2 separate regions of the Homo sapiens genome follow, and region 2 is linked to region 1. Evidence: promoter capture Hi-C in human tissues and cell types (Jung and others, 2019). All regions are on one chromosome and are shown on one strand. Each heading gives the region's core, a stretch centred on a gene start or on the middle of the fragment in contact. The rest is flanking DNA. Distances are from core to core; before and after follow the strand shown.

Region 1 (5,615 bases), core at 998-3,497:
TTTTTTGGTTTGGTTTTTTGCTCATAAAACAGTTCTCATATTTTGGTTTGGGGATAAACTACCTTGTTAGGTGATGCCTGTGTGAGGGACAGAGGAACAACTGACCCCGCTTTTCCAATATAATTTTAAAAATTAATTAACAACTGCTCTGGGCTCTGACCTACTCTGCTGCTTGTTGTTTTGTCACTGAACTTGAGCTCTTTTTTATTTGCTTTTATTTGTATAGTAGTTAGTTTTGTCCTATGCTTATTTAGAGGTAGGGTGATTCTATTTATGTTTCTCTGTCAAATTTCAATTTTATTGTTCTTTATATCACCATAAATCCTCAATCACTTGTCTGCTAAGAATAACACTAATAATATCTCACTTCACACTATATGGAAGAGGAGGTAAGATTGACATCTGTTCTTAGTCTAGAATTTCAACCTCTCTTATAAAGTCATGAAACTCTGTACCTTTGTCTTCTGTAATGCCACATTTTCCTAGTTTGCCTGTTATCTTCTTTAATCTCTTTTTGCCATCCTCTGGAAACCCTTATTTCTGATAATACTGTTTCTATTCTCTAGCAAAAAGGGTCTGATTTTTTCTGCCTCCTCCCACAAGCCTGGGTAACCTCATCCCTCTGGGTGAAGAGCTGTTGGGTTTACCTCTACAGCCATGTTCTCATTCCCTAGCTCCTGCCAGTTATCCAACTTTTGTGAACCTTATTTGAAGGTGCCCACACAATTCAAATTAAATATGCTCCAAGTCTTACTCTTTGTTCCTGCAGTTCTGTCTTGGTCCATGTCTATTGCCTTACTGAATGGCTCTATCATTCATTCAGTTTCCTAACCCAGAATCTGAGCGCCATCCTTTCCTGTTTTCTCTCCTGATTTACACATCCATTATATCAACAAGTACTGTCATTTCTCGTTCCTAAACATCTTTCAAATCCATTCATTCTCTCCAACTTCACTAGCATCATAGGTAGTTCAGTAACCATCATCCCTTCCCTAGAGAACTGCCTCTTTCTTAACCCTAACTCCCTGATTTCAGTATTATTTATTCCTATTGTTGCTTTACATGAAAACCAGGACAATATTTCTGAAATATAACCCATTTAATTCTGAGAATTAAAATAATTTCAGATTATAGACAACAAAGTTTTTGGGATTAGGCAAAACTGGATTTCAATCTCATCTATACCAGCTATATGAATATCTCTGAGTTTCAGTTCCATCTTCTGGAAAATGGGAATAATAATGTTACCTAGCTCCATCCTTCTTCCATTTGTGTGTCTTTTGCTTATTCATCAGGTCTCCAATTAGATGTCCCTTTATCTAGGAAGTCTCCTCTGCCTACCTACCCAACGTTGAGTTCTTTGATCCTCCTATGAGCTCTCTCAGGATATCCAATTTTACCTTGCAGATCACTGATTATAATGGGTTGTAATGATTTATTTATTCATCAGCATTGCCACTTTACCTTGCAGGTAACTGATTATAATGGGTGATTTATTTACTTGTCTATATTGTCAAGTAGCCTATAAAATCCTTGAGCGAAAATCATTTTTCACCATTTTATCTGAAGCACATGGCACACTGCTTGGCTTATAGTAGCTTTTCTCTAAGAAAATGCTGAGTGAATGAAAATTGCATGCCACTTTGCTTTCCTCCATGTAAAGAAGGCATTATTTTATTTTACCAATGAATCAGGTTCAGGGGATTAACAAGGTCATACAAGAAATGATTGCCATTGGGTTTGTCTTAGTCAAAGACCAGCTTGTTCTATGATACCAGCTGCTTCTTTGACTTAGAAAGGTGTTGTATTAATTATTGCTGTACAACCAACTTGTTCCCATTTTGTGGCTATTCATGTTGAACCTCCAAAGGTGAAATATCATGAAAATAAGATATTTAAGTTGTGTATATTAAGGCACAATTACTTTTTCACCAACCTAATACAATAGTAACAGTAGTTCTCTGGGAAGAAGAGTACTGTGGAAATGTGTGAAATTGTGAAAGGGGGCATTTATAAATTACCATTTACTTAGTTGTGTATATAACAATCTTTGAGCAGAGTCTGGCAAACAGAAAATCCTCCACCACTGATACCCACAGTAATTAGCACTATTATTTTCATAGGAAAGACTGTATCAGGCAGCCACTGCTTTTTCAGCAAATTTCAAAATAAACGTCCACACCCATATTGGGAACGCAAAATCAGTTAATGCTTCCGATAAAAAAGAGGAACTAGTTGTGTGTCTCAGAAGTTCTCAACACATCCTTTAAGGTTCCAAACATCTACTAGAAAAGGAGTGCAGATTTAAACTGAGTGAGGTGTGGAGTGGGGGAAGCTGACTGTGTCTGGAACAAAGAACTTTGAGGAACTTGCCCAGAGCCCTGCACTCATCAGACCTGCAGCAGACATTGCAGGCCTGAAGAAAGGTAGGTCCAGGGACTTGCCTTCCTAGGCTCTCGGACTGATAGTTTGTTTCATTTCCTGGGTTTAGGATTTCTGGGAGTGGAGTGAGAAAAAAAAATGAGGTCACTTCCCATGACCCAAGCTGGTAGTCAGGGTTGGGGTGGATTGAGTGCACATTTAAATATGCATTTGGTGAGGGTTGTGGGTGGTTGAGGAACAGTCTTCGCTACAGTTGATGGGAGTTAGAAAAGCCTCCTAAAGGCTGACACTGGAGGCTGGATGAAGTTGTTTTAGTTACTTTTGTTCCGTAAGTTCTCAGGATACCAAAACACTGTAAGCAACATTTTAAACTTTGATTAATTACCTCATCTACTGTTAATGCACTTCTTCCATGGTCTTTATTCTTTGTCTCTGACTGGTTATTTTTATAATTCAAGACTTAAGAAAAGATCTAGCACGTGCAGAATTTGGTGTACATGGAGTAGGGCACAGGCAGGGTCCCCAGCCTTGTACATTTAGATGGGCTGTGGCCTGACGTAGTTCTCCAGTGGTCTTTGGCACTATTCATGTGGCACCCAGGCAGTAAACTGAGGCTGCTCATGATAAAATCTGCAAATGAAAAACATCTTGTAGACTTTTAGCATTCTTAGGATAAGAAAGAAGCTTGTAAGTAGTCGTAGTCATTGTAATCTTTCCCCAGATGAAGTAAATGAAATCCAGAAAAGGGAAATAATGTACCTAGAATCACACAAGTTAACAAAAGGGCTAGGAGCAAAAAACCCAGAATTCTTGGTTCCTAGCCCAGGCCTTTCCCCCTTTTCCCTTCCCATGCCACCATTTCTGCATCCCCATCATCCTCCTAAAAACCATCCAGATTCAGGCCTCATTTTGGGTTTCTAGTCTATTTGATAACTCTGCCAAGAAAAAGGGGATGACCGTGTATACCACTCTCCTCATGCTCTCTTGTGTTGTGACCCATAAGGGGGATGGTGACATAAAAATGAGGAAACAAGAGACTGCTGGTGCTGCTGATCCACAAGGAGACTGGGGCCAATAGAAGAGGGAAGGGTGGTCTAGGTTACCCCACCTCTTTATCCGGGGTGGGGAGGAGGGGCGGGGAAGACATTGTAGTTGTCAAGAACCTGATGCATATAGGTGATGTGGCAAAACCAAGGTTTAGATTCTTCTCCAACCTGAAAGAAATGTCCCTCCCTCATATGTATCCAATATTCTCTGCAGTTAAAAAATATATATTTTGATTGTAGAGAAGTGGAGTCTTGTAAACACACGCTTTCTTTCCTTGGGGACCTTATCTACCCTAGATAATTAACACATGGATTTCTGTGGTGTAAAGATAGGAGGCAGTTATATAAATTTATGTCAAGAATGTCTTATAAAGACAGAGCACCAGCCTTGAATGACCAGAACCTGACCTATGTTACCAAAGAATTATGGAAAATCATAAGAGTCAATTATAAGCCTTAATTTGATATAATGGCTCGGCCCTCAGGAAGCTTACAGCCTTACCCGAGAGGCACTAAACACAGAGGGAGAACTACCAAGTGTGTTTGATAAGACAGACCCAACATGTCCTAAATTCTCAGTCTGAAGGTGTGCGTGAGAGATTGAGGCCGAGTTTCCCTTACATTAAAGAATAGGCCGGGTGCGGTGGCTCACGCCTGTAATTCCAGCACTTTGGGAGGCCCAGGTGGGTGGATCACGAGGTCAGAGGATCGAGACCATCCTGGCTAACACGGTGAAATCCCTTCTCTACTAAAAATACAAAAAAATTAGCCAGGCGTGGTGGCAGGCGCCGGTAGCCCCAGCTACTCTGGAGGCTGAGGCAGGAGAATGGCGTGAACCCGGGAGGCGGAGCTTGCAGTGAGCCGAGATTGCACCACTGCACGCCAGCCTGGGCAACAGAGCGAGACTCCGCCTCAAAATAAATAAATAAGTAAATAAATAAATAAATAAATAAATAAAAAGTACACATTTAGATGGACTAAGAAGAATTATCTTCAGTTTCTTTCAAAATAACTTTGGTTTCTGTGGTGTAAAAGGAAAATAACATAGATTTCTTAAATCCTTAGTTACCACTAGAGGTTGAGTAATCCACATGCGGGAAATGGGGGCTGTAGGAGAATGGTGTCTGAGAGAAGACAGAAACTATGCAAAACTGTTAGTGTGTGAGAAGATTAGATGCTGTGGTGGGTTTGTTGCTATTCTTGTAAGGTGGTCATGGCCGGGGGAGTGGAACATTCCTGCAAACGGGCTCAACATATGCAAATGTCTCAATATAGGAATGAAATTACTTTAGAACAACTTAAATAAGTCCAATATACTTGGGGCTTTAAAAAATAAAAAGGAGAAATTCAAGGTAAGGCTACGATAATAGATATGGGTTGAAGTAGCAGCAATATCAACAACATTAAATTTTTATCTTTATACTAAAGGTGGTGAAATGCAAAGAAAGGACTTTAAAGGGGAGGGTGACACAGTTGTCTTTGCATTTGATCATTTGGCTACAAAGTCAGGGGTGGGTTGAACATCCAAGGCTACAAATGGACACCGGGGAACATTCAGAGGCTGTAAGCAATACTCCTGATAAAAATAGGATGATGGCTTGGCACGAGGAGATGGGAGAAATACAGAGTTAAAAAATGGTTGCGTAGAATTAGAATATGATTGATGGAGCATAGAAGGTATGTAACGGAAGGTATCAATGACAAACTACCAGACATTTAACACAGACAACTGAGCTAATTGTTGGGCCTTCTACCAAGAAAGGACATTTGCAGTCGCATAGCCCTCTTAGCATTCCTGTTACCTTTAGCTCTTGCCTCTCTTGATTAGGGACTGCTTGTAGTGTTCTGAAGTAATCTCCACATAATATTCCTTGTGCCACCTTCCTTTATCTGAAAGATAAATTTTGAGGAAGACTGAATATCTTCTAATTTGGTCTTCTAATGTTTGAAATAAAAATTACCTCTTCTCTTTGCTGGAACAATTTGATAAATGATCAAATTATGGGCTTTATTATAGTGACTTCAAAATTAACCCCAGAGGGGGACAATTCTCTCAAGTTCAGCAAAATTTGAGGGTATGGATTCAGTTTAAGACCAAAAATAAGGCCTGCTATTTTATTTTATTCGTTTGCTCCAAATCTAAATTTTGTATTCTGTTCAGGGGATGCTGAAGTCTACTTATAGGTT
Region 2 (5,615 bases), core at 2,187-4,686, 300 kb after region 1:
GAGGATGCCGAGAAACTGGGTCACTCATACATTGCTGGGACAATGTGAAATGTATCAACCACACTAGAAAACAGTTTGTCAATTTCTTTAAAAACTAAACATACAACAACCATATGACTCAACAATTAAACTCTTCGGCATTTATCCCAGGGAAATAAAAATGTATGTTCACATAAAATGTACATAAATGGGCTGGGCGAGGTGGCTCACTCCTGTAATCCCAGCACTTTAGGAGGGCGAGCCGGGTGGATCACGAGGTCAGGAGTTCAAGACCAGTCTGATCAACATGGTAAAACCCCATCTCTACAAAAAATACAAAAATTAGCCAGGCATGGTGGCACGTGCCTGTAATCCCAGCTACTCAGGAGGCTGAGGCAGGAGAATCATGTGAACCTGGGAGGCAGAGGTTGCAGTGAGCCGAGATGGTGCCACTGCACTCCAGCCTGGGCGACAAAGCTAGACTCTGTCTCAAAAAAAAAAAAAGTACATAAATGCTAACAATAGCTTCATTTATAATAGTCAAAAACTGAAGACAGCCCAGATGTCTTTTGGTGGGTGAATGGTTAAACAAACCATGGTACAATCATGCCATGGAATTCCACTCAGCAATAAAAAGAATCAAGTGTTGATACACGCAACATCTTGGATGAATCTTCAAGGAATTACACTGAGTGAAAAAAAACGCCAATTCCAAAAGGTTACAAACTCTGAGCCCATTTATATAACACCCTTGAAATGACAAAATTGTAGAAATGGAGAACAGATCTGTGCTTGACAAAAATTAAGGAAAACGGAGACAGAAGGTTTGGCATTAGTGGTTCAGGAGGAAAGTAGAAGTGGCTCTAAAAGTGGCATCCTGATTACAATAGAAATGTCTGTCCTTTGGCTACATCAATATTAATATCCCAATGTAATACTGTATTATATTTCTGCAAGATGTTACCATTGTGTGAAGCTGAATAAATAGTATAATTGATCTCTGTATTATTTCTTACACTGCATGTGAATCTACAATTACCTAAAAATAAGACGTTCCTTAAATGTAAAACCAGTTATTCATATCCACATTAGCAAAAAGTAAGACATCTGTGAGCACCAATTAGAATTAAAGAACAATTGAGCAAGAGAGTTACTTTTCAGATCTGTACCTGTGGCCTCACAGTCCCATTCCTAGATATGCACACACAAAAAGAAACCACTCAAATACAAACATTATTTGTAACGGCCCCACACTAGAAAAATTCTATCAATGTGAGAACAGAAACAATTTGCAATGCATTTATTCACTGGACTGCTAAATAGTAATTAAAATATACCAAAGCTACAAATGTAAATCTCCAAGTGATGGACAACAAAAAAGCTGTAGAATTAAATAGAAATAGAAGATAAATGCCTGCGAAACATATTTACAGATCCACAAATTTGACGTAAAATTGTAAAACACACAGGAAAATGAATAATTACCAAACTCACATATGGGCAAAGAGGGAAGAGAATAGGATCAGGAATGACCACAGGGACTTCAACTCTACCTGAACTTTTACTTCTATTAGAAAATAAAATGTAAGCAAATGTAGCAAATTATGGATTTAATAAAGCTGAAGAGCAGGTCAGTGAATATTGATATTATTCCTTATAGTTACCTGCTTTTTTAAACTTAGTTATCCATTTTAAATAGTTCCTAATAAAAGAAAGCATAATGAATACACTAAGATTCTAACATGTACCCATGTCAGGTCTAGGTTGTCTTGTTGAACGGGTAGCTTGACAAGTATACACAACCTTTCACTGCAATTCCGAAATCTTAACCTTAGAAATTGACAGCCCAGGCAGGAAGCAGTGGCTCACGCCTTTAATCCTAAAGCTTTGGGAAGCCAAGGTGGGAGGATTCCTTGAGGTCAAGAGTTGGAGACTAGCCTGGGCAACATAGCAAGTCTCTACAAAAAATTTTTTTTTAATTAGCAGTTCACAGCTGCAGTGAGCTACGATGGCACCACTGCACTCCAGCCTGAGTGACAAAGAAAGAAAGAAAACAAAAGAAAGAGAAAGAAGAGAAAGAGAAGAGAAAGAGAAAAAGAAAAGAAAGAGAAAGATGAGAAAGAGAAGGGGAAAGAAGAGAAAAAGAAAAAAGAGAAAAAGAAGAGAAAGAGAAAGAGGAAGGGAAGAGCAAGGGACGAGGAAGAGGGAACAGGAAGAGAAGAGGAAGAGAAAGAAGAGGAAGAGAAAGGGAAGAGTAATAGAAAGGGAAGAGGAAGAGAAAGGGAAGAAAAAAAAGAAAAAGAGAGAAGGAGAGAAAGAAAAGAAAACAGAAAAAAGCATTCAGCACAGTGGCTCATACCTGTTATACCAGCACTTTGGGAGACCGAGGTGGGCAGATCACTTGAGGCCAGGAGTTTGAGACCAGCCTGGCCAATATGGTAAAACCCCGTCTCTACTAAAAATACAAAAATTAGCTGGATGTGGTGGTGCACATCTGCAGTGCCAGCTACTTGGGAGGCTGAGGCACAAGAATCACATGAACCCGGGAGGCAGAGGCTGTAGTGAGCCCAGATCATACCACTGCACTCCAGCCTCGGTGACAGCGAGACTCTTGTCCCAAAAAAAAAAGAAAGGAAGAAAAGAAGGAAAGGAGGAAGGAAGGGAAAGAAAAGAAAGAGGGAGGGAGGAGGGAACGAGGGAGAAAGAGAAAGAAAGGAAGAAAGAAGGGAGGAGAGAAAGAAAGGAAAAGAGAAAGAGAAGCAGAAATAGAGGAAGAGAAACTGACAGCCCAAGTTTATACTCAGGGCTACCAATCATTCTGGTTTGCTCCGAACAGGAGGTTTTTGGGGCCGACGCAGGAAAAGTACTGGGAAAACCTGGACCACTGCTCACCTCACTTAGGGGGCACTGACTGCTCCCTCTGAAATGAAAAGGATCTATGAAGTATAAGGTAAAGAAAGGCTAAGCCTTATAAGGCTTTCTTCCTGTATGTGACACACCACAGAGTCCCAAGTTCCTACCACCACCCACTCCTCTGTTTTCCAGGCCACTCCACACTCTTTATATTAAACCCACTTCAAGTACTTGATCCCCAAGAATTGATATGGTCAGAATAAGATCAAAAGGAAAGGGGAGTTGGAGAAAGACAGTCTCAGGTTAGGGCACATTCCCTAGTCTCAGTGCCGGTATGCAAGAGAAAAACATGGTATCTCAAGATTGCACATCGAAAAGAGGCACCACCCCTCCATGTGTCCTTGGCTATTATTAAGATTCAACCAGACCACAACTGTAAAGAATCCAAAGCCACATCTTTCAGCTCTCTTTAAGAAACTTCTATTCCCCAAGTGATAAGTTATACCTGACCAGTCCCCAGCGCAGGTCCATATCAAGGAATGCAGATAAAAGAGCCCTTTGAACCCCAGAATGGTCTTCATTTGCCCAGATTGAAAACCAAACCTCACTCAGGAAACAGGAAGTTGGGGAGAATAGCCTTATATGCCAAAATGCCTGAAGCCACACATAGGTGTGGGTAATTAATTACAACTTTGGACAGCACACACGTGCCATAAATATAATTTTGTTTCATTTTCTAAGATGTTACACTTTTTACTCAAATGTCAAAAAACAAGAGCAAAGATAAAGCAAAATGTGCAATAGAAGTACAACAGAAGGCTTCACTTGTTTTAGAGTCCAAAGCATCAGATATAGTTATTTTTATGCACTAAGGTTTACTTTATTAAAACTTCCTAATATCCTATAACATCTGTCTCCACATCTGAACACGAAAGAAATAACTGGATGATAATTTACTTGTTCTGTGCATCTCAGAAGGCCAAGCCCTGAGAACATGGGAATTGAAAGATTTCATCTACTTTCACCTGTTTTCACCAACTAAACAGTGGTACTCAAACTTAATAGATATCAGAATCACCGGGAGAGCTTATTGAAGCACAGCTGAGTGTCATTTAGTTTTCTGATTCACTAAGACTGGGCTGGGACCTGAGAATTGATGTTTCTCACAAGTTCCCAGGCGATGCTCATACTGACCACCCAGGGACCACACTTTGAGAATCCCTGGTCTACAGGGTTTTGCCTTCAGAGTGCATGCTGTGTTGATGCCCATTAGCAGCGATGTTTGCTTCTCAAACTTTAAGGAGCATATACATCACTTGAGGCTCTCTTTACAATGCAGATTCTAATTCGGAATGTCTGGGGTGAAGGCTAAGATTCTGCATTTTAAGATTGCAGGGATGTTGCTCTGGAGACTACGTTGTGAGTAGCAATGCCTGTAAATGGTTACTCACATTTAGATTCCTTTCTTCAAAACAGAAGATGCCAACTTAAAAATGAGAAATTCAAAATCTCATTACCAAAACAAGCCTAAATGAATGTTTGGTTCAAATATATTCTGATTTTTTTCGCTAATAACCAGTTATTAGAGTTTAGCAACTGTGTCCTACGTTAATAGAACGTGGAAAGTAGGAGCTTACCAAAAACAAATAGAAAAGACTATATAAATGCATTTAACTATCCTTGATATTATCTGAATTTTATCATTAAATTTAGTCTGTTCTAAAAGTTCTAAAATGCCATTAAATGATGAGCTCTTCAAAGGTTGAGATCATTCCTCTGTATTTTTGTGTGTCCTAACTTTCACAAAATGGGTGCCCAATAAAAGATGGCAGGAGAAAGAAAAAAAATAGAATTAGTTAGCATTTGTTCCTTTTAAAAATTTTTGTTTGTTTTTGTTTTGTTTTTGTTTTTTTGAGATGGAGTTTAGCTCTTGTCACCCAGGCTAGAATGCAATGGCACGATCTCCGCTCCCCGCACTCTCTGCCTCCTGGGTTCTAGCGATTCTCCTGCTTAGACTCCCAAGCAGCTAGGATTACAGGCGCCCGCCACTATGGCCAGCTAATTTCTGTGTTTTTAGTAGAGATGTGGTTTCGCCAAGTTGGCCAGGCTGGTCTCGAACTCCTGACCTCAAGTGGTCTGCCTGCCTCGCCCTCCCAAAATGCTGGGATTACTGGTGTGAGCCACTGAGCATGGCCTCTTTTTAAGTTTTTGAAATGTTTACATTTCACTTGTGTTAAAGACACAAATATATTTTAATTTTAATAATTATGCTTTTTTAATTTAATGTGTATTGAGATTAAAGGTATATTAAAACATTTCAGATACATTGCTATCTAGATGGACAGTGCTAAGGTTCAGTCCAAATGAATGTCAAAACCTTGTCCACAGGTACCTAAGGATGCACAAGGCAATGTCTCTGACTTTCAGCCACCCAGTCTTAGCCTCGTGTATCTGACAATCTGCGAAACTACTATTGTTATCAAATCGTCAATAAACTAGTAAAGAATAGGTGGCTTGAATCTTAAAAATTACCTGGTTAAATCACTGGAAGAGCAATACTTTCAAGGTGAGGATGGAAGCATTGAAGAGGTGACAGGGTCTCTTCATAGAGACAGGGTTTTGCCATGTTGGCCAGAATGGTCTCAAACTCCTGACCTCAGGTGATCTGCCTGCCTCAGCCTCCCAAAGTGCTAAGATTATAGGCTTGAGCCACCAAGCCCAGACTGCCATGTGTATATCCTTTTAAGGAAGTATCTATTCAAATATTTTATTCATTTTTATTG

The links. The method cuts DNA at HindIII sites, captures the fragments that hold promoters and counts their contacts. A contact is called where the count stands out against the background at its distance.
Region 2: a contact is called between the fragment with the promoter of OOSP1 here and the fragment with the promoter of MS4A4E in region 1, in 1 of the 25 tissues and cell types used here (adrenal gland).

The regions. Positions count from the first base shown.
Region 1 is chr11:60,239,769-60,245,383 of GRCh38, reverse strand. MS4A4E (membrane spanning 4-domains A4E) reads left to right here and starts at 2,247. Exons shown (of 9, transcript NM_001393391.1): 1 at 2,247-2,426. The HindIII fragment of the contact is 6,388 bases long and covers 1-3,492 here.
Region 2 is chr11:59,936,253-59,941,867 of GRCh38, reverse strand. It overlaps OOSP1 (oocyte secreted protein 1), which reads right to left and starts at 3,436. Exons shown (of 5, transcript NM_001395276.1): 1 at 3,338-3,436. The coding sequence starts at 3,413. The HindIII fragment of the contact is 12,909 bases long and covers 1-5,615 here.